Linked DNA regions of Homo sapiens: all the other regions are linked to region 3. The links are contacts of gene promoters, found by promoter capture Hi-C in blood cells and fetal thymus (Javierre and others, 2016). All regions are on one chromosome and are shown on one strand. Each heading gives the region's core, a stretch centred on a gene start or on the middle of the fragment in contact. The rest is flanking DNA. Distances are from core to core; before and after follow the strand shown.

Region 1 (5,767 bases), core at 1,715-4,214, 130 kb before region 3:
TTAAAAGTCAGAAGATTGGTTATAGCTTCTGGCAAGAAAAGGGGTTTACAAACAGGGAAAGTATGGTCACCTCCTGAATATTTATATGGGTACGACCTCTACAGAAAATTTACTTAGCTTATGTTATGTATTCTCTTGTTTGTCTCTTATTTGTTTTTTAAGACAGGTTCTCGCTTTGTCACCCAGGATGGAATGTGGTGGCACGATTATGGCTCACTGTAGCCTCGACCTCCTGGACAAGCTCAAGCAATCCCTTAACACCTCAGCCTCCCTAGTAGCTGGGACTACAGGCACACATCAGCACGTCCAGCTGATTTTTAAGTTTTTTTTTTTTTGAGACAGAGTCTCACTCTGTCGCCCAGGCTGGAGCGCACTGATGCGATCTCAGCTCACTGCAACCTCCGCCTGCCAGGTTCAAGCAATTCTCCTGCCTCAGCCTCCCGAGTAGCTGGGATTACAGGCATGCGCCACCACACTTGGCTGATTTTTAAGTTTTTTGTAGAGATGGAGTTTCCCTATGTTGCCCAGGGTGGTCTTCAACCCCTGGGCTCCAGCAATACTCCTGCCTCTGCCTCCCAAAATGCTGGGACTACAGGTGTGAGCCACCTCATCTGGCCTGTTTATGTATTCTCTTTAGATGTATCCTCTTCTGTTTGCAGCCCATATTCTCTTTAATGAGATGGGAATAATATTTTTCTTGAAAGTGTGGTAGAAGTTAAAATTGGGTCTGATGCTGTTCTTGGGGCAAGACTTTAAATAATAGATTCAATTTAGGCAATAGGAGTGCTCAGGTAATTTCTTTTGAGTATGTTTTGTTAAAATTGTATTTTTCTAGGAACATGTCCATTTCAACAGTTTTCCCATTTGATGGGCTTAAAGTTCTCACAGTAGTAAATTTTTAATCTCTTATATACACTTTATTTCCTTTTAAATCCCTATTTATTCCCTTTCTCATTCCTATTGATCGGCTTTACCAGAAGTTTGTCTATTTTATTAGTTTTCAAAGAACTTTGGTCTTAAAAGTGACTCTTACTGTTATACATTTGCCTTATTTTATTAACTTAAGGTGTATGTTTTACATTCTTCCAATATCATTTTCAGGCTCATTCACTTGTTCTTTTAATTTCTTATTTTCATAAAATTGTTTTTAGAAATAGGGTTTTGCCATTGCCCAAGCTGGTCTCAAACTCCTGGGTTCAACCAATCCTCCAGCCTCAGCCTCCAGAGTAGCTGAGACTATTGGTGTGGCCAGCAAGCTCTTAACAATTTTTTTCGGTCAGGTGTGGTAGCTCACGCCTGTAATCCCAGCACTTTGGGAGGCCAAGGTGGGCAGACTTGAGGTCAGGAGTTCGAGACCACCCTGGCCTATATGGTGAAACCCTGTCTCTACTAAAAATGCAAAAATTAGCCGGGCATGGTGGCAGGACCTGTAATCCCAGCTACTCCAGAGGCTGAGGCAGGAAAATCGCTAGAACCCAAGAGGTGGAGGTTGCAGTGAGCCAAGCCATTGTACTCCAGCCTGGGCAACAGAGCAAGATGCCGTCTCAACAACAACAAAAATATATATATATATAATATTTACATATAATATACATTATAAGATACATATTTTTAGAGACAAAGTCTTGCTATAATATATATGTATTTTTAGAGGCAAGGTCACACTCTGTCACCAAGGCTGGAGTGCAGTGAAGGAACACAGCTCATTGCAGCCTCAACCTCCTGAGTGCAAGTGATCCTCCCACCTCAGCCTCCCAAGTAGCTAGAACCACAGACACGAGCCACCACGCTCATTTAATTTTTAAATGTTTTGTAGAGATGGACCAGGTGCGGTGCTCACACCTGTAATCTTAGCACTTTGGGAGGTCAAGTTGAGAGGATCGCTTGAGTGCAGGAGTTCAAAACCAGCCTGGGTAACATAGTGAGACCCCATCTCTACAAAAAACACAAAAATTAGCCAGGCCTGGTGGCCCCCGCCTGCAGTCCCAGCCACTGTGGGGGAGGGATGGGGGTGGAGACGCTTGAGCCCGGGAGGTGGAGGTTGCAGTGAACTGAGATTGTGCCACTGTAGTCCAGCCTGGGGGACGCAGCAAGACCCTGTCTAAAATAAACAAACAAACAAACAGTTCTTTGTAGAAACGGTAGCTACAACCAGCCACACTGCTCAGGCTGTCTTGAACTCCTGGCCTCAAGTGATCCTCCTGCCTCAGCCTGACAAACTGCTGGGATTACAGGTGTGAGCCACCACACCTGGCCTGATTTTATTTTTTACAGCAAAAATTTATAAGTGTTTTAAAAATATACCTTTTTCTTTTTAAAACCAGGATTTGAACCTAGGTTTTCCGAGTCTAGAAGCCCACCTCATAACCATTAAATTCTTCCTGTGCATTCTGGTTTTATATTAATCAACAAATAGTGACCAAAATCTTTAATATATCATACAAGGTTCTTGGCACAATCTGATCCCTACAACCTCTATCTGTATCCCATGCTACTCTACTCCATGTTTTGACCACAAAAGCTTTCTTTCGCTTGCCTGAAACTATCATGCTTTTTCAGACTTTTGTGTATGCTCTCTCCTCACTCCTTTAAATAACAGATGAAGCCTATTCTTCACATTTTTAGCATAGTCCTTACTTTTTCTGGGAAACTAAGTTAGTTATTTCTATTATATACAGTACTCTTATAACTCTAAGTAACTCTTCATAATAGCACTTGGATGGTTAAAATCCATGAAGGTAGGAAAAGTTTCTAGATTTATTCACCACTCTATCAATTCTAAGTACATGAAACATAATAATCTTCCAACAAATACTAATTGAAAAAATAAATGAATACATATTATATAACAAGTACTAGTGTAAGCTCCAATTAGAACAAGTTGAAAAACTGTTGCTATCTCTGGGAACTCAGTGTGTCATGTCCTTCCCTACACAATCTCTTGAGGGCAGAAATTTTATCTTTCTCTTTATAATCTCTTCAAATCTCAGAATACAATCTTGTGAAAAAGTATGTGTTTAATTTTGCTGACCATGATACTAGAATTTGCTGGAATAGAAAGGCTAACCTATTCAAAAGCCTTTTTTGTCGTTGTTGAGACGAAGTCTTACTCTGTCATCCAGGTTGGAGTGCAGTGGTACAATCTAGGCTCACTGCAACCTCTGCTTCCCTGGCTCAAGCGATCCCCCCACCTCAGCCTCCCAAGTAGCTGGGACCACAGGCGTGCAACACCACCACGCCCAGCTAATTTATTGTATTTTTTGGTAAAGACGGGGTTTCACCATGTTACCCAGGCTGATGAAAGCCTTTTCTTGAAGCACATTTTAAAGATGACCCTTCCTAACATAAATGGTCAAGATGTCTCAAACTACAGTAAAGGCAGAAATCATCCTCCTTGTCAGTGTTTTAAAGCTTCAATAATTAAACTGCTATGACAGAGATACCAAAATAGACTGATAGAAAGGAATATAAAAATATTTGACATTTCACCAGGCCCCCAGCTTGGGGCGCCTTCCTTCCCCATGGCGGGACACCTGGCTTCGGATGCCTGCCTTCTTGCCCCCTCCAGGCGGTGGAGGTGATGGGCCAGGGGGGCCGGAGCCGGGCTGGGTTGATCCTCGGACCTGGCTAAGCTTCCAAGGCCCTCCTGGAGGGCCAGGAATCGGGCCGGGAGTTGGGTCAGGCTCTGAGGTGTGGGGGATTCCCCCATGCCCCCCGCTGTATGAGTTCTGTGGGGGGATGGCGTACTGTGGGCCTCAGGTTGGAGTGCGGCTAGTGCCCCAAGGCGGCTTGGAGACCTCTCAGCCTGAGGGCGAAGCAGGAGTCAGGGTGGAGAGCAACTCCGATGGCACCTCCCTGGAGCCCTGCACCGTCCCCCCTGGTGCCGTGAAACTGGAGAAGGAGAAGCTGGAGCAAAACCCGCAGGAGTCCCAGAACATCAAAGCTCTGCAGAAAGAACTCGAACAATTTGCCAAGCTCCTGAAGCAGAAGAGGATCACCCTGGGATATACACAGGCCGATGTGGGGCTCACCCTGGGGGTTCTATTTGGGAAGGTGTTCAGCCAAACGACCATCTGCCGCTTTGAGGGTCTGCAGCTTAGCTTCAAGAACATGTGTAAGCTGCGGCCCTTGCTGCAGAAGTGGGTGGAGGAAGCTGACAACAATGAAAATCTTCAGGAGACATGCAAAGCAGAAACCCTCTTGCAGGCTCGAAAGAGAAAGCGAACCAGTATCGAGAACCGAGTGAGAGGCAACCTGGAGAATTTGTTCCTGCAGTGCCCGAAACCCACACTGCAGCAGATCAGCCACATCGCCCAGCAGCTTGGGCTCGAGAAGGATGTGGTCCGAGTGTGGTTCTGTAACCGGTGCCAGAAAGGCAAGCAATCAAGCAGCGACTATGCATAACGAGAGGATTTTGAGGCTGCTGGGTCTCCTTTCTCAGGGGTACCAGTATCCTTTCCTCTGGCCCCAGGGCCCCATTTTGGTACCCCAGGCTATGGGAGCCCTCACTTCACTGCACTGTACTCCTCGGTCCCTTTCCCTGAGGGGGAAGCCTTTCCCCCGTCTCCGTCACCACCCTGGGCTCTCCCATGCATTCAAACTGAGGTGCCTGCCCTTCTAGGAATGGGGGACAGGGGGAGGGGAGGAGCTAGGGAAAGAGAACCTGGAGTTTGTGCCAGGGCTTTTGGAATTAAGTTCTTCATTCACTAAGGAAGGAATTGGGAACACAAAGGGTGGGGGCAGGGGAGTTTGGGGCAACTGGTTGGAGGGAAGGTGAAGTTCAATGATGTTCTTGATTTTAATCCCACATCATGTATCACTTTTTTCTTAAGCCTGGGACACAGTAAAAAAAAAAAAAAAAAAAAAAAATTGAAAAGACCCTAAGATCTAACAGTATATAAGAATTTAGGATGGTGGGGCGCCGTAGCTCACACCTGTAATCCCAGCACTTCGGGAGGCCGAGGCGGGAGGATCATCAGGTCAGGAGTTTGAGACCAGCCTGACCAATATGGTAAAAACCCGTCTCTACTAAAAATACAAAAAAATTAGCCAGGCATGGTGGTGTGGTGGTGTGCGCCTGTAATCCCAGCTACTCAGGAGGAGAATCACTTGAACCTGGGAGGCAGAGGTTGCAGTGAGCCGAGATTGTGCCACTGTATACCAGCCTGGGCGACAGAGCGAGACTCCGTCTCAAAAAAAAAGAAAAAAAGAATTTAGTGCTGGGTGTGGTGAGTCATGCCTGTAATCACAGTACTTTGGGAGGCCAAGGCAGGCGGATCACTTGAGGTCAGGAGTTCAAGACCAGCCTGGCCAACATGGGGAAACCCCGTCTCTACTAAAAATACAAAAATTAGCTGGGCATGGTGGCGCATGCTTGTAATCCCAGCTACTTGGGTGGCTGAGGCATGAGAATCACTTGAACCCAGGAGACAGAGGTTGCAGTGAGCCAAGATTGCGCCACTGCATTCCAGCCTGGGTGACTCGGTCTCAAAAACAATAACAACAACAGCAACAACAAAAACTTAGTGTATGATAAATGTATCATTCCAAATAAGTTGGGAATGGCTAAACTAATCAATAGTACTGAAAGAAAATTAAACCTCTAACTCATAGCTAATATTCAGTATTACATAAGTGACATAAAGAGCTAAATATAAAAAAGCAAGATCTAGTCAATCACAACAGTGTAATTACATAAATTATGATATATTCCTACCACAGTATAAGGTAATTCTGTATGTTCTGATGACAAGCTCTCAGCATTAAA
Region 2 (5,824 bases), core at 1,818-4,317, 150 kb before region 3:
CTTAAAAAATGGTCGATCTTGGCCAGGCGTGGTGGCTCAGACCTGTAATCCCAGCACTTTGGGAAGCTGGGGCGGGCAGATCACTTGAGGTCAGGAGTTTGAGACCAGCCTGGCCAATATGTGAAACCCCGTCTCTGCTAAAAATACAAAAATTAGCCAGGCGTGGTGGTGGGCACCTGTAATCTCAGCTACTCGGGAGGCTGAGGCAGGAGAATTGCTTGAACTCCATCTCAAAAAAAAAAAAGTTCGTATTATTTTCTCTTTCTTTTTCTGAGACAGGGTTTCAAAAAAAACGCTTTGTCACTTAGGCTGGAATGTAATGTCATGAACACAACTCACTGCAGCCTCGGACCCCTGGACTCAAGTGATCTGCTCACTTCAGTCTCACAAGCAGCTGGGACTACAGCTGTGCGCCACCACACCTGCTGGATTTTTATTTTATTTACTTATTTATTTCTGAGACAGAGTTTTGCTCTGTCACCCAGGCTGGAGTGCAATGGTGCGATCTCGGCTCACTGCAACCTCTGCCTCCGGAGGTCAAAGGATTCTTCTGCCTCAGCCTCCCAAGGAGCTGGGATTACAGGTGCCTGCCACTGCGCCCAGCTAATTTTTGTATTTTTAGCAGAGACAGGGTTGTGTCATGTTGGCCTGACTGGTCTTGAACTCCTGACCTCAAGTAGTCTGCCTGCCTTGCCTTCCAAAGTGGCCTCAAGCAATCCTCCAGCTCCAGCCGCCTAAAGTGCTGGGATTACAGGCGTGAGCAATCGCACCTGGCCTTTATTTTTATTCTGTTGTATGATATTACAACAGTAGATACATGTCAGTATACATTTGTCGAAACCCATAGAATGTATATCACCAAGAATGATATACAGGATTACAGGCCTGAGCCACTGCGTCTGGCCTGAATTCTTAAATTTTTAGTAGAGACAAGGTCTTGCTATGTTGCCCAGGTTGGTCTTGAACTCCTGGGCTCAAGCAATCCTCCAGCTCCAGCGGCCTAAAGTGCTGGGATTACAGGCGTGAGCAATCGCACCTGGCCCCTTTATTTTTATTCTATTGTATGATATTACAATAGTAGATACATGTCAGTATACATTTGTCAAAACCCATAGAATGTATTTCACCAAGAGTGAACCCTAAAGTAACTACGGACTTTGGGTAATAATGGTATATCAATGTAGGTACATGGATCATAACACATGTATCACAATGGTGTGGTGTAACAGTGGGCAGGTTGTGTGTATGAAGAACAGGGTGTATATGAAAACTCTGTACTTTCCACTCAATTTTGCTGTGAAACTGAAACTGCTCTAAACATAAGTTTATTAATGAAACTGCTAACAACAAAATAGCCAGCCCACAATAATATCCTGGCTTCACATCTTTCAAGAATGCATACATGTACTAAACTGATCAATGTTCTTAAAAATGCTTAAAGAATAAACCATTTTCTTCCTACTTATTTTTGGGAGAGGAAGAGCTAGTTCTAACATACATAAAGTGATATTTCAGTCCATTTTCAGGTCAAATCTTTTGTATGACCAGAGACACTTACAAATCACTGATACGGTTGTATAATTTGATGTGAAATCAAATTACATCAAAAGATCAGAATCTTCCATTTTTAAATCTTTAATCAAGAAAAAGCACAAAAGTAAAAAACAGAAGTGTGGTCTTATGATATATATAAATATAAATATGAATATAAATAAATAAATAAATATATATATATATATATATATATATATATATGTTTTCATCCATGGTTCCTGGCTCTTAACTCCCATAGTCCCTGTTATAATGTTGGGGCACTTTAAGTCTCAGGAGTGGGCCTCAGGAGATAGAATCTCTCTTTGACCTTCTCCTGTCTTCCTTTCACCTACCTAAGGCAGGACTCTAATCTGATTCTGGGCCAAGAAAACCCTCACTCCAGAGAGGGTCCTGCCCCATACCCTAGAGAAAGGAATGTGACACAGAGAGGCCAAGAAGTCTAGACAGGACATGCTGGGTTTACATCCTCTACATTTTGTTCAATCACATTTCTACATGGCTGTCATTGACGCCTATGAAGCTTCCATAAAAACTCAAAAAGAGGCCGGGCGCTGTGGCTCACTCCTGTAATCCCAGCACTTTGGGAGGCTGAGGTGGGCGGACTGCCTGAGCTCAGGATTTCGCAACCAGACTGGGCAACATGGTGAAACCCCGTCTCTACTAAAATACAAAAAATTGGCTGGGCATGGCGGTGTGTGCCTGTAGTCCCAGCTACTCAGGAGGCTGAGGTAGGAGAACTGCTTGAACCCAGGAGGTGGAGGTTGCAGTGAGCCAAGATCTTGCCACTGCACCCCAGCTTGGGCAACAGAGCACGACTCCGTCTCAAAAAAAAAAAAAAAAATTTAGCTGGGTGTGGTGACAGGTGCCTGTAATCCCAGCTACTCTGGAGGCTGAGGCAGGAGAATCACTTGAACCTAGGAGGCAGAGCCTGCAGTGAGCCAAGATCATACCATTGCACTCCAGCCTGGTTGACAAGAGCGAAACCCCATCTCAAAAAAACAAACAAAACCACAAAAAACAAAACTCAAAAAGAAAGGTTCAGAGAGTTTCTGGATAGCTGAACATGTGGAGGTTCCTGGAGGGTAGTGCGCCCAAGGAGGGAATGAAAGCTCTATGCTCCTTCCCCAGTATATGTCTTCATCTATAGCGTCTGTAATATCCTTTATAACAAACCAGTAAATGGAAGTACATGTTTCCTTGAGTTTTGTGAGCCATTCTAGCAAATTAATCAAACCCAAAGGGGGGATTGTGGAAACCCCAACTTGAAGCTGGTTGGTCAGAAGTTCTAGAGAGCCAGAGTTGTGACTGGTCTAAAGGGAGGGTGGCGGTCTTGGGAACTGAGCACCCAACCTATAGGATCTGACCCTATATCCAGGAAAACAGTGACAGAATTGAATTGAGGACACCCAGCTGCTGCCTATTGCTTGGTGTATGGGAAAACCCTCATACCTTTGGTTACAGAAGTCTTCTGTGTGTTTTTTTTTTTTTTAATTTTATTGAAAAAAATGGTTTTTTTTAAACCAGCAGTTTGCTCTTACAGACTTCTTTGTTGATGATTATTGTGATGTGACAGCAGAGGAAAAACACAGTCTGAGAGGTTCTCCCTAAGCAAGAAATAAAACTTGAATTTTATTTAGCAGAAAAGTTGATAATTATATTTCTGCTCTATTTAGCAGACTCTGTTCCAAAATTATGACTGAATTAGATGTGTCCCAAAGTGTATTTCTACTTTCTCATTTCTACTGACAGAATGTTGATTTTTTTTTTCCTTAACAGCTATTAACACCTAGAGTAATGACCATTATTTCCGCAACCTGTCTTATGGCTAAAGTGTGGCTATGCAATTTAAATTCTAGCCAATTTATATAAATGCGGGTTTGAAATTTTCTTACAAAGAAGGAGCATGGGCCAGGCATGGTGGCTCACGCCTGTAATCCTAGCACTCTGGGAGGCAGAGGAGGGCGGATCACCTGAGGTCAGGAATTCAAGACCAGTCTGGCCAACATGGTGAAAGCCCATCTCTACTAAAATTACAAACAATTAGCTGGGCACGGTGGTGGGTGCCTGTAATCCCAGCTACTTGGGAGGCTGAGGCAGGAGAATCGCTTGAACCCAGAAGGCAGAGGTTGCAGTGAGCCGAGATCGTGCCATTGCACTCCAGCCTGGGCAACAAGAGTGAAACTCCATCGCAACAAACAAACAAACCAGAAAACAAAAAACAAAGAAGGAGCATGCTTTTCCTCCTCTTTTCTGTCTGTAACAAACATCAAATGGCTGGACTCTAGTAACTATCTTGGAACATGAGGGAATCTTAGGAATGCATAATTAGTGCTGAGATAGAAGGGAGAAAAAGGAGCCTAGGTCCCTGAAGACATTGTGAAGGTACCATTATGAACTTTGAACTACATACTTCACAACTTCTCTTAAATTAAAAAAAATAGTTAAGTGCCTATCTTTTTAAAGTCTTGGTTATTTGAGATGATTTATTATTATAATTAGCTAAACTTAAGCTTCATTAGTAAAATGTTTTCATGACCTAAGAAGCACGTTCAGAGTATAAAAATTTTGTGATATCTACCTCAGTGACAAATCAATAAAAATCTTTTAAATGCAAAATAAAGTGGTATGGTTTACATGTCAATTACTTTAACACCACCAAACGAGATGTACCTCTAAAATCTAAGGTTTCCTCTTTCAATCTTATTCTTCTCTTTGTCTAAATTCAGATATTCATGACTTTTTGACAGAAACTGTGAGGTGAGAGTTTTTGCCACTAGTAATTCATTCCATTTATTTTCCACCCTGCTGCTGGAGTTATCTTAAACAAACCTATACCTTTCACATCCATCCCCCAAACTCATTTTTTATTTCCTATAGCAAAATAGCATTAAAAAAATTTCTTTTTTTTTTGAGATGGAGTTTCGCTCTTGCTGCCCAGGCTGGAGTCAATGGCTCGATCTCGGCTCACTGCAACCTCCGCCTCCCAGGTTCAAGCGATTCTCCTGCCTCAGCCTCCCAAGTAGCTGGGATTACAGGCATGTGCCACCACACTCGGCTAATTTTGTATTTTTAGTAGAAACGGGGTTTCTCCATGTTGGTCAGGCTGGTCTCAAACTCCCAACCTCAGGTGATCCACCCGCCCTGGCCTCCCAAAGTGTTGGGATTATAGGTGTGAGCCACCACTCCCATCCAAAACCAAATATCTTAAAGTTAACTAAATATCTCAAAGTCCATGGTTATATGTTCCTCATCATATAATGCTTATTTACCACAGGGCCACTACATTTCAGAAGCCCTAAACTTTCAAGTTGTTTTGATATATGAAAAATCTTTGTATCCTTTTTACATGCTGTTCTGACTGGAATATCCTTCTCCATCTGGTAAACTACTACCACACCTCTAAATCCTAACTCAACCAGAAAATATTTCTTAATTGATGATAATTTGCTATCCCTTTGATGCTTTAAAAATTCTCAATTAGAGTGCTTATTAAATTGTACTCTGCCAAGATAATACAAAGTTCTTAAAAGCAAGGCAAATATTTTATTCATCTGACAAAGCTCATGGAACACAGCGTCCAATCAGTGAAAAATGAAGTCACCAATATAAAAAATGAAGTCACCAATATCATTTTAGTTACACAGAGCCATTTATTGCTTAAGTTAATAAGAAAAGCATCATTAGGGCCAGGCACGGTGGTTCACGCCTGTAATCCCAGCACTTTGGGAGGCCGAGGCAGGTGGATCACGAGGTCAGGAGATCTAGACCATCCTGGCTAACATGGTGAAACCCCGTCTCTACTAAAAATACACAAAATTAGCTGGGCGTGGTGGCGGGCCCTGTACTCCCAGCTACTCGGGAGGCTGAGGTAGGAGAATGGCGTGAACCCCGGAGGCAGAGTTTGCAGTGAGCCAAGATCGCACCACTGCACTCCAGCCTGGGTGACAGGGCGAGACTCCGTCTCAAAAAAAAAAAAAAAAACAAAAAAAGAAAAGAAAAGCATCATTAGAATCTCAATCTAGAAAGGCAGAGAGAAGATAACCATCAGAAAGACAATTAGTCTCATACAACATAAGACAGTACAGTAGTACAGTGAACACTGGTATTTGTGCATATTACTTTTGTACTGATTTCCCCCCACATCAGAAAGGGTAATGTATTGACCTTGACACAAAGTTTGAGGGAGGCGTACCTCATACATGAGTGCAAAAACACAATCATCACGCTTATGAAACACAAAAGAATCTATATTGTTTTTTGATAGTCAAAG
Region 3 (5,477 bases), core at 1,172-3,671:
TATTCAAAGAGTAAGTAGTGGCAAAAATCTCTTTGCAATTGGGTAACAAAATTTCAACTTCTAGGAATGTTTCCCTCTTCCTTGTCCTTTTGAGAGCTGCCACCATCAAACAATTCAGACTCAACTGAATTAGCATCTCTTCAAGCACAGAGACCATATATTATTGATTTTTGTGTCTCCTGCATAGGATTAACTCAGTGTTTGTTATAACTAAGCTAAACTCCAAGACAGGAGCTTCAAATCACCTCAGGCCCAATCCAAAACTGAAAAAAGACAAACCCACTTCTCAGAGTTTAGGAACAAAAAGATACTGACAAAGAACAAAGCCATAGATACTTGTGCTATATTATATTCCCTTATCACCAAATTCAGAGTCCTTTACTAATACTGCAGAAATAAGTTTGCAGATGATAAAAAGAATAAAAAACATGGACCCTAAAGTTCTCCTGTCAACATGTTCAAATACCATAGACTCTTTCATCTTAAACTCATACTAACATCCACACACCCGAACAATGAAAATGAAAGGTTTTCAAATGAGACCTAAATATAAATTGGCTCTATTTTATTACATTTTAAGTTCCTAAAATCATATATATAAATCATGTGATTGTGCTTATGCTCATCTTCTAACTTGAGGGCCCAGTGTCTTTCATCAGATTCTCAAAAGGATAAGTGACCCCAAAAAATTTTAAGAACCACTCATCTAGCCTATCAAGAAACATCCCATTTTTCAGAAGAATACGGTTAAGTGGCTTAGTTTATGCATTCTTTCTTCATATTCATAGAGGGGATTCTTACTATATGAAATGAGTCTTTCAAAGGATTCCTTCAGCCCAGCCAAGAAGTTCCAACATCCACAGGCACATGTATTAACAATTACCAGAACCCAAAAACAGTTCTCTGGTTTTAATTCCACACCGCCTCCCTCAACTTAATACCCACCACTGTCAAAACAACTCCCCTCACGTTGTACCCAGGCTATTTACAGAGACACCTTGATTATCCTCACGCCAAGGCATGGACCATTTATTGAACAGGCAGTCAACAAATATTTGTTGAATGAATGAAAAAGGATCCTTCCTCCCACAGATTTCAAGTTAAGCTGTCAGCACCCATGCAGCTGCTCTGGTACAAGTTAAGCTGTGAAAGCCTTCTCTCCCTCACACATACAACCTCAAGTGTCAGAAATGCTCTGCTTCCTCCATAAATCCAAAATAATATAGTCATGGATATGCATTTCATACAGGTCAGACTCGGCAAGGACAGCTACGTTCCACATACATATCTGACACAATCGGTCTCCCCCAAATACAAGCCAACCAGTCTTATGTGCTCCTATCTTTCCAGCATACTCAGATTTGCCGACAAAGACTTCCTGAGGCACCATGGTATGCTGAATATACTGCTGCAGTAGTAGTGAAAATATGGGAGTTACAGTTCCAACTTTGTCACCAATTTAACATGCGGCCTTGGAGAAGTTCTCTCCTTATGCCTAAATTTCCTATTTTGTAAAATGGAAGAAAGCATCCTACCATTTTCACAGAGATTCAGTATCACAAAAAAACTGAAAGAGCTTTCTTATTGTATTGTAAACTATTACTATAAACCCGCGACAACAAATAAGGCCACCCATTCTTTACAACTTTGTAGTAATGATTCTGTTAAAGATATTTTGGCCCTTCACATTTACACAACTCACTCTAACCAAAGGCACAAACTATTCTTAAGACCACAACTGGCTATGCCAAGTTTCTCCCCTCCCTGACCTCACAGACACATGCTGTACAGAACACTACCATTGCCGCTCTTTCCCAACAAGTAACTAGGGGCTCCCAATCCCTAAAATACACACACATATCAACCTGCAAGGAACCTCCCAACATTTATTCAAGAAATAAGCTAACTTATAAGGGGAACTCCATTACACTTACACAAATAAAGGCAAACTCTTACGGAAACACTTGCCATCCTCACATACACACACCAACACAGCCGCTACACACCAACAGACCATCTGTCTGCTAGACCAAAAACATCTCTTTCCATGTACAAACTAACCAGTGACATTTATTAAACTTACAACACTGAGATCATCCTGTCGTTCCCACATACCGTTCAACGCGGCAGGGACACCACAGACCTTGTCACACAGGTAAAATCCCCTCTCAAGATCGTGTCCTCGACCACTCTTATCCCTTAATTAAACACACACAAACTGGACTATGGGGGAGGCTCCGATCATGCCTACAAACACAAACTAACCTGTCAGGGGCACAGCCGACTCCGCCTCCACTCGCTTACTTCCCAGCCCCCTCCGGGAGTCTGCCTGTCAGGGACACCCCTTCACCCCGCCTGGAGGGACTTCCCGGTAGGCTCAGGATCCCCCTCCCTGCTCTCCCCTCCCCCATCTTCACCACTGCTCTCTCAGAGATCCAGGTCCGGGAGATGACAGTGGCTCCCAGAAAGCCCAGGATTCAATCGCTGAGAGAGTGCTTAGGCCCGAATGCCGGCCCAAATCGTTCTACTCACCGTGTCGGAGGCCGAGGCCGAGGCCGAGAGCGATGAGAGTGCAGGGAAGTGGGGAAGAGGGGGTGGCCGCCAGGCTCCTCCGCTTCCCTGGGTCCACGGCGGATCCCTCCCGCTTGTCAGGAGGCGGCCAGCGGGTAAGCTGACTGGCGGAAATGCGAGAGAGGAGAAGGGAAAGGTGGAAGGCTAAAGGGGGCAAACTGAGGGGAGGCGGGTCCCGCAACCGAGACTGGGATCGTCTCCCCTCCGCAAAGCGAACCCAAAATGGCGGCGGGAGCGGCGGCGGCGGCGGCGGCAGCAGCAGAGTGGCGGCGGTGGCGGCGGCAGCTCCTCCAGAGGGAGGGAGCGAAGGGCGCCTAGCGCCCCCCTCAACCTTCCACTCCTTCCTCCTTGCGTTCTTTCCCACCGTCCCCCGCTCCGCCCGACTCCGTCCGCGTAGCGCGCACGCCCGCCCGCACGCGTACGAGTGTCTACGGGCTCGTCGCTGGCTGCTCCCACCAACCACCACCTTCGGCCGCCCCGCGCGCCAGCCAGCCCGTACGCGCTCACCCACAGGAACCCCCTCGTCCAGTCCCTCACTACCCCTCAGGCCCTGTCAAGCCGGCGCCGGCGCAGGCCCTCACGCGTACCTTCAACGGCGCAAGCCCAAGCCTCCTCCTCCTCCTCCTCCACCTCCTCTTCTCTCCTCCCCCCCCTTCCCCGCCCCCACGGCCACCAACCGCCGCCACGGCCGCCGCCGCCGCCGCCAGCCCCCCCTACCACCCTCCACCCCTCGCGCGTGCGCCTCCCACAATCCCCCCCGCGGGACTGTTCCATTCCTGTCGGCTGCAGGGGCAGGAGAGGAAGGGACGGGCCGAGCGGGTCGGGGCTTGCCGTTTGACTGGAATTGCCAGAATGGCGGACCGAGCCCCACGACAACCTACCTCCCTGGGCTCCTCGCCGCAGCGCTGCGGCTCGCCTCCCTCTGCTCCTCCTCCTCCGCCGGATCGCGGCGAGCGGATCGAGGACTGCCTAGCGCCCCTCTGCCCACCGGTGGTTGGAGGCCGCGGCGGCTGCGCGTTGAGTCGTTTCCTGCCGGTTGACCTGAGCCTACTTCGCAGTAGCAGGACCGCTGCTGTGGAGCTGGTCGCAGGCGGTGTGTGCCGGTCGCCTAGTCAGGAGAACTAGTCCTCGACTCACGGTGAGGGAATGGACCGACACGGGTATTGTACCGCTGAGGGAAAGGAGCGGGACTCCGGACCTCCAGGAGGTAGGGAGTGAGGCCAGTAGGACCGGCGCGCCTCCGGGGGGATTCCTCCCGGGCGTTGAGTTGCCAACCTGGGACCCGAGGAAGATCGGCGTGGTGGTGTGCTTTTTGTTGTTGTTAACCCTCCTCGGATTTCTCGAATTTCACACCACTGTCCATATGCGATGATGTTTGTTTGCCCTTGACGCACTTACTCATGGATGGTACTTCTTCAGCCTCGTTAGACAGCCTGGTGATGGAGGATGAAGAAACCATGTGCTTTTCATTCAGTTCTGGACTTAGTCTCCCTTTTCTTCCTTCAGCAAGTTATTTTTGTTAGTTCCTTATCAAAAAGTGTACATAAAAATTAGGCAACTCCAAACATGCCTCCAGGGTTAATGTGTGAAATAATAAGATAATATATGTAAAGTGGAATTAGCTCCTAGGCATAGGGAAAGTGCAGAATATTGCCGTGTTGTCATTTACAGTTCTGTTGATGTCGATAACGTTTGTGGGTGTAATTGGTAGTGTTCTGTCCCTCCAAGGAGTTAATAAAACAAAGCAAACATAGGCCTGTTAGGTTTCTGTGGCTACTGAATATTTGTTTCTCAAAACACTTGACTGATATTTGATAATTGAATGCAGCAGAAATACGGACGATTAAAGTCCACAAATAATTCCAAAGTTTACTTGATCTAGTAGTTTTTACCTTTACCTAAAGGGTAAAGCAGAATAAATTACCGGAAGGATCTACTTGGGTTTCCCTTTCCTTCACATTTGTGGACTCCTGGGGATCCAGGAAGTAATTCAGAAATGACTGTTCAAAAGCCCATGCAAGGCCGGGCGCGGTGGCTAACGCTTGTAATCCCAGCGCTTTGGGAGGCCAAGGTGGGCGGATGACCTGAGGTCAGGAGTTCGAGACCAGCCTGGCCAACATGGCAAAATCCCGTCTCTACTAAAAATACAAAAATTAGCCAGGCGTGGTGGTGGACGCCTGTAATCCCAGCTACTCAGGAGACTGAGGCAGGAGAATCGCTTGAACCTGGGAGGCGGAGATTGCAGTGAGCCGAGATGGTGCCATTGCACTCCAGCCTGGGCAACAAGAGCGAAACTCCATCTGAGGGAAAAAAATAAAAATAAAAAGCCCTTGCAACCTCCAAAATTCAAGTAGACAGTCCCAAATTTCCCCTTTAGGATACGTGGATTAAGTGTTGTTTACTTGTTTCGTTTCTTTAAGGTAAAGAGGAAAGCAGCCTTAATTACCTCATTGTATATTTTCCTAACCAAGTCCCACACTTTCATGGAGCCCACTTGTTTACCGATCTTTTGTTAGTTGCTTCATGCGTGCAAGTGTATTATGCTACCAATAACTTGTTTTATCTGAGAACAGGGACTATGTCTACTACTTAATTTACATAAAGCATCACAGGCTAGCGCAAAGCAAGTCACAGAAATATTGAAATGAGGCTGGGTGTGGTAGCTCACGCCTGTAATCCCAGCACTTTGGGAGGCCAAGGCGCATGGATCACGAGGTCACAAGTTCAAGACCAGCCTGGCCAACATAGTGAAACCCCGTCTCTACTAATAATACAAAAAATTAGCCGGGCGTGGTGGTGGGCGCCTGTAATCCCAGCTACTCGGGAGGCTGAGGCAGGAGAATTGCTTGAACCCGGGAGGCAGAGATTTCAGTGAGTGGAGATTGCACCACTGCACTCCAGCCTGG
Region 4 (5,496 bases), core at 2,755-5,254, 190 kb before region 3:
TAGAGATGGGGTTTCACCATGTTGGCCAGGCTGGTTTCGAACTCCTGACCCCAAATGATCCACCCACCTCAGCCTCCCAAAATGCTGGGATTACTGGCATGAGCCACTGTGCCCAGCCAGTTTTTTTTTTTTTTAATTTATTTTTATTTTTTTGAGGCAAAGTCTCGCTCTGTCACCCAGGCTGGAGTGCAGTGGCTAAATTTCAGCTCACTACAACCTCTGCCTCCTGGATTCAAGGGATTCTCCTGCCTCAGCTTCCCAAGTAGCTGGGATTACAGACATGCACCACTACGCCCAGCTAATTTTCGTATTTGTAGTAGAGACGAGGTTTTGCCATGTTGGCCAGGCTGGTCTCGAACTCCTGGCCTCAAGTGATCCGCCCACCTCAGCCTCTCAAAGTTCTGGGATTACAGGCGTGAGCCATTGTGCCTGGCCTTTTTTTTTTTTAATTAAAGAGGGGGAAGTCTCCCTCTGTCACCCAGACTGGGGTGCAGTGGCCTGATCACAGCCTACTGTAGCCTCGAACTCCTTGGCTCAAGGGATCCATCCTGCCTCGGCCTCCTGAGTAGGTGGGATTACAGGCATGAACTACCACACCCAGCCTTAACCATTTTTAAGAGTACAGTTCAGTGACATTAGGTATATTTGCTGCTGTTGTATTACAGGAATTTTATATTACATTAATTGAAATGACATTTCCAGGCTATATGACTAGCTGAACCCATAGTAGTTAGGGAATTAACAAGTTAAAAATTCTAGATGGGTGCAGTGGCTCATGCCTGTAATCCCAGCACTTTAGGGGGCAGAGGCAGGAGGATCATGTGAGGTCAGGAGTTCAAGACCAGCCTGACCAAGGTGGCGAAACCCCATCTCTACTAAAAATACAAAAATTAGCTGGGCGTGGTGGTATGTGCCTATAGTCCCAGCTACTCGGGAGGCTGAGACAGGAGAATTGCTTGAACTTGTCCGGCGGACGTTGCCGTGAGCTGAGATTGCACCACTGTACTCCAGCCTGGGCAAAAGAGTGAGGCTCTGTCTAAAAAAAAAACAAAAAAAAAACAAAAAAAAACTGAACATAGAAGACAAAAGAAGTCACACACATCTTGTCACTGCTTTCTTTACTTTTTTTTTGGAGACAGGGTCTCGCTCTGTCACCCAGGTTGAAGTACAGTGGCACAATAATGGCTCGCTGCAGCTCTGACCACCTGGGCTCAAGCAATTCTCCCACCTCAGCTTCCTGGGTAGCTGGGAACACAGGCGCGCACCACCGCATCTGACTACTTAAAAAAAAAATTATTTGTAGAGGTGAGGTCTTGCTGCTATGTTGCTTAGGCTGGTCTCAAATTCCTGGGGGTCATGGGATCCTCCCTCATCGGCCTCCCAAAATGCTAGGGATTACAGCATTTTGTGAGCCAATGCACCTGGCTGTTTTAATGGGAGCTGTTTAGTTTTGGTGTATGGTTTGAAATCTCATCTAGGCTGTTAAGCATTATTTTTTGGTTTGTTTTTTGGATACAGGGTCTCATTCTGGTTGCCCAGGCTGGAGTGCAGTGGCATGATCTTGGCTCACTGCAGCCTCGACCTCCTGGGCTCAGGTGATTTTCTCACCTCAGCCTCCAGAATAGCTGGGACTATAGGCACACGCCACCATGCCCAGTTGATGTTTTGTATTTTTAGTAAAGATGGGGTTTTTCCATGTTGCCCAGGCTGGTCACAAACTCCTGGACTCAAGTGATCCGCCCACCCTGGCCTTCCAAAATGCTGGATTACAGGCGTAAGCCAACATGCCTGGCCTTAAGCATGACTAAAACAAGGAATGATCAAGAAAATAATCGTCAAAATATCATGTTATATTTATAATAATAATTTTAAAGGCCGGGCACGGTGGCTCATGCCTGTAATCCCAGCACTTTGGGGGGCAGAGGCGGGAGGATCACGTGAGGTCAGGAGTTCGAGATCAGCCTGGCCAACACGGCGAAACCTCGTCTCTATTAAAAATACAAAAATTAGCCAGGCGTGGTGGCAACTGTAATCCCAGCTACTTGGGAGGCGGAGGTAGGAGAATCGCTTGAACCTGGGAGGCAGAGGCTGCAGTGAGCCGAGATGGTGCCACTGCACTCCAGCCTGGGTGACAGAGCGAGACTGTCTCAAAAAAAGGAAAAAAAAAAGTGAAAAGTTTTGTAAAGAAAATATATAACAGTTTATACCTTAAAGTACTTTCAGAGTAATCTGACTTACTCTAAACAAAAATACCACCACGATTCTAAAGGGCACACGGCACACAGTGTCAAATCATGTAAATAGGAGCAGAGAAAGTATCGACTGGATTATTCTTCAATTTAAGATAATCAGCTTCAGCTGTAAAGAAGACAGTGCCTTAACATCAAATTCAACCACCTTTACTCTTCCGTTTGCTGACTTCTTTGGTACATGAATATTATTGAATACCCCTCTTGAAATGCCTTCCTTTTTTGGCTTTCCTCATTTTTTATGATACTGGATTTCCCACCTTGCCAATACCAATTCCTGTCTTTTCTGGTAGAAATCCTTTTTTCCTCTACCATATTCCTTTTTCTAGAGAGCTGATCTATAATCATGGCTTCAAATGTAACCTCTAGTTCATAATATTCCACACCTATATTTTCTTCTTTTCTTTTTTTGACACAGGGTCTCACTCTGTCACCCAGCCTGGAGTACAGTGGCGTGATCACAGCTTACTGTAGCCTCAACCTCCAGGCTCAAGCGATCCTCCCACCTCAGCCTCCCAAGTAGCTGGGACTGCAGGCATGCACCACTATGCCTGCTAACTTTTGTATTTTTTGTAGAGGTGGGGTTTTGCCATGTTGCCCAGGCTGGTCTCAAACTCCTGACCTCAAGTGATCTGCCTACCTCAGCCTCCCAAAGTGTTGGGATTACAGACGTGAGCCACTGTGCTTGGCTGGCACCAAGTATTTTCATAATACCTAATAACACATACTATAAACTGCATCCGGATTTAAAAAAACCCTGAAGTATAAATAAAAGAGTGCTCAGATAAGAGAGATTTAAATTTTAAAAGATTTCTTCCAGGGAACAATCATTCAGAGGTTACTGAAAATTTGTAGTTTCTAGAGTTCAAGGCATTGAAATATATTCCCCATTTGTTTTGACAACCAGAATAAGTCCTTAAATTATATAAAACCAAAACATGTTTCTATTTGTTGTGTCTGGAAACCAAACTAAATTTACCAAAATCTGAAATTAGATGCTGTAAACTACAATGTGAGGTCTTTGATTTAGTACAATTTGTCATTATCTTTAGCCAGATAATGCCCTTGAAAAACGAGAGTTGGGCTGGATGCAGTGGCTCACACCTGTAATCCCAGCACTTTGGGAGGCTGAGGCAAGAGGATCACCTGAGGTCAGGAGTTCGAGACCAGCGTGGTCAACATGGCAAAACCCTGTCTCTACTAAAAATACAAAAATTATTAGCCGGGTGCAGTGGCAGGTGCCTGTAAATCCCAGCTACTCGCAAGGATGAAGGATGAGGCAGGAGAATCGCTTGAACCCGGGAGGTGGAGGCTGCAGTGAGCTGAGATTGTGCCATTGCACTCCAGCCTGGGCAACGAGAATGAAACTTCGTCTCAAAAAAAAAAAAGAAAAATGAGACAGTCGCACCCCAGCCAGCTACTAAACGTAGATCTAGGTTGTCCTTCATATAGTGAGATTTAAGGGTTCAGGACCGGCCTCGGCTAAGTATCGAGATCCCGTCTCTACTTTAAAAATAAATAAAATAAATAAATTAGCCAGGCGTGGTGACACGCGTCTTTAGTCTCAGCTACTCAGGAGGCTAACATGGGAGGATTGCTTGAGTCCGGAAGGTAGAAGTTGTAGTGAGCTGTGATGGCGACACTGCACTCCAGCCTGGGCAACAGAGTGATATCCTGTGTCATAAATAAATAAAAATACTGAGCTTGTGGACCACACTGTTTAATAAAAGTGTGCATTTAAAATATTTGTGAGTAAAGAAAATCAGTATGCAAAACACTATGTGAACCTGTATGTACATAAAATGATAAGGTGTGAATTTACAGTGATGCAGGTAAGGTAGAATTTCCCAACTGGCATGCTGAAGCAGGAAGAACTAAAACATTGATTCCCTTCAGACCACATGGACAGCTGACTAGAGATCAAAGAAGCTACTTTTGGCCATGAGAACTATCCAGAACAGGAAATACTGATGTAAAATTCACTGATTCTTTTTTATTTTGCTGCACATGTGCATTGTTACTAAAACAACAAATTCTATATCCACTCCTTTGTCTATTAGACATTTCTATTTTGAAATTTCAGTGCCGTTTAAAATTATATACTCTCTTGGCCAGGTGTGGTGGCTCATGCCTGTAGTCCCAGCTACTCGGGAGGCTGAGGTAGGAGAATCACTTGAACCTGGGAAGTGGAGGTTGCAGTGAGCTGAGATCGTGCCACCGCACTCCAGCCTGGCGACAGAGCGCGACTCTGTCTCAAAAAAATAAATTAAAAAAATACAAAAATTAGCCAGGCATGGTGGGGGGCACCTGTAATCCCAGCTACTTGGGAGGCTGAGGCAGGAGAATCTCTTGAACCCGGGAGGCAGAGGTTGCAGTGAGCCAAGATCGCGCCACTGCACTCCAGCCTGGGTAACAGAGCTAGACTCCATCTCAGAAAAAGAAAAAAAAAAAATTACAGACTCAAATCAAAGTCATAACTCATAATTCTTTTTTTTTGGGGGGGAGATGGAGTTTCCCTCTTGTTGCCCAGGCTGGAGTGCAATGGCAGGACCTTGGCTCACTGCAACCTCTGCCTCCCAGGTTCAAGCAATTTTCCTGCCTCAGCCTCCCACGTAGCTGGGATTATAGGCATGAGCCACCATGCCCGGCTAATTCTGTATTTTTAGTAGAGATGGGGTTTCTCCATGTTGGTCAGGCTGGTCTTGAACTCCCGACCTCAGGTGACCTGCCTGCCTCAGCCTCCCAAAGTGCTTGGATTATAGGCATGAGCCACCATGCCAGCCAAATTCATAATTCTTATCTCCAATTCAGTTAGATTCCACACTTTATTTTCAGAGAGAGAATATATCCCCATATGAAGAGCATATCCCCTATATGCCGATGGTTTATCAACATACTTTTCTTCTAAAATATATTATGCCCTTCCTCTTCACTCTCACTGCCACTGTCCTATTCTGCTTCCTCATTGTGGCAACCATATATTGAGAGCTAGGAAGGTACCTAGGACTGTGCTTAATGTTTTATGAGCTGGGCACAGTATCACATACCTATAGTTCCAGCTACTCAGGAGGTTGAGGTAGGAGGACTACTTGAGCCCAGGAGTTTGAATCCAGCCTGGGCAACACAGTGAGACCCTATCTCTAAAAAAAACAAAACAAAACAAAACAAAAACCCCAAAACAAGAAAGCCAAAACTTCACAAACATTGTTTATCAACAGTCTCATATAATCTCCACAAACCCTCCATA

Evidence for each region. The method cuts DNA at HindIII sites, captures the fragments that hold promoters and counts their contacts. A CHiCAGO score of 5 or more calls a contact.
Region 1: a contact is called between a fragment that was not itself captured here and the fragment with the promoter of ASH1L-AS1 in region 3, in 1 of 17 cell types (M1 macrophages). The highest score is 6.3, in M1 macrophages.
Region 2: a contact is called between a fragment that was not itself captured here and the fragment with the promoter of ASH1L-AS1 in region 3, in 2 of 17 cell types (M1 macrophages and erythroblasts). The highest score is 5.8, in M1 macrophages.
Region 4: a contact is called between a fragment that was not itself captured here and the fragment with the promoter of ASH1L-AS1 in region 3, in 2 of 17 cell types (M0 macrophages and erythroblasts). The highest score is 5.2, in M0 macrophages.

The regions. Positions count from the first base shown.
Region 1 is chr1:155,429,659-155,435,425 of GRCh38, forward strand. The region is part of intron 5 of ASH1L (ASH1 like histone lysine methyltransferase); the gene reads right to left. It also overlaps the pseudogene POU5F1P4. Among named protein-coding and RNA genes, the nearest start is that of MIR555, 86 kb to the left of the region's middle. The HindIII fragment of the contact is 890 bases long and covers 2,520-3,409 here.
Region 2 is chr1:155,409,864-155,415,687 of GRCh38, forward strand. The region is part of intron 6 of ASH1L (ASH1 like histone lysine methyltransferase); the gene reads right to left. It overlaps LOC124904842 (small nucleolar RNA U13), which reads right to left and starts at 5,799; the gene lies at 5,695-5,799. The HindIII fragment of the contact is 1,990 bases long and covers 2,073-4,062 here.
Region 3 is chr1:155,559,621-155,565,097 of GRCh38, forward strand. ASH1L-AS1 (ASH1L antisense RNA 1) reads left to right here and starts at 2,422. Exons shown (of 2, transcript NR_147964.1): 1 at 2,422-2,666; 2 at 3,630-4,324. It overlaps ASH1L (ASH1 like histone lysine methyltransferase), which reads right to left and starts at 3,183. Exons shown (of 28, transcript NM_018489.3): 1 at 2,533-3,183. It also overlaps a transcript of MSTO1 not described here. RefSeq lists silencers at 958-1,252, 2,974-3,123, 3,174-3,313, 4,398-4,692 and an enhancer at 3,202-3,769. The HindIII fragment of the contact is 29,470 bases long and covers 1-5,477 here.
Region 4 is chr1:155,372,174-155,377,669 of GRCh38, forward strand. The region is part of intron 10 of ASH1L (ASH1 like histone lysine methyltransferase); the gene reads right to left. Among named protein-coding and RNA genes, the nearest start is that of MIR555, 28 kb to the left of the region's middle. The HindIII fragment of the contact is 8,414 bases long and covers 1-5,496 here.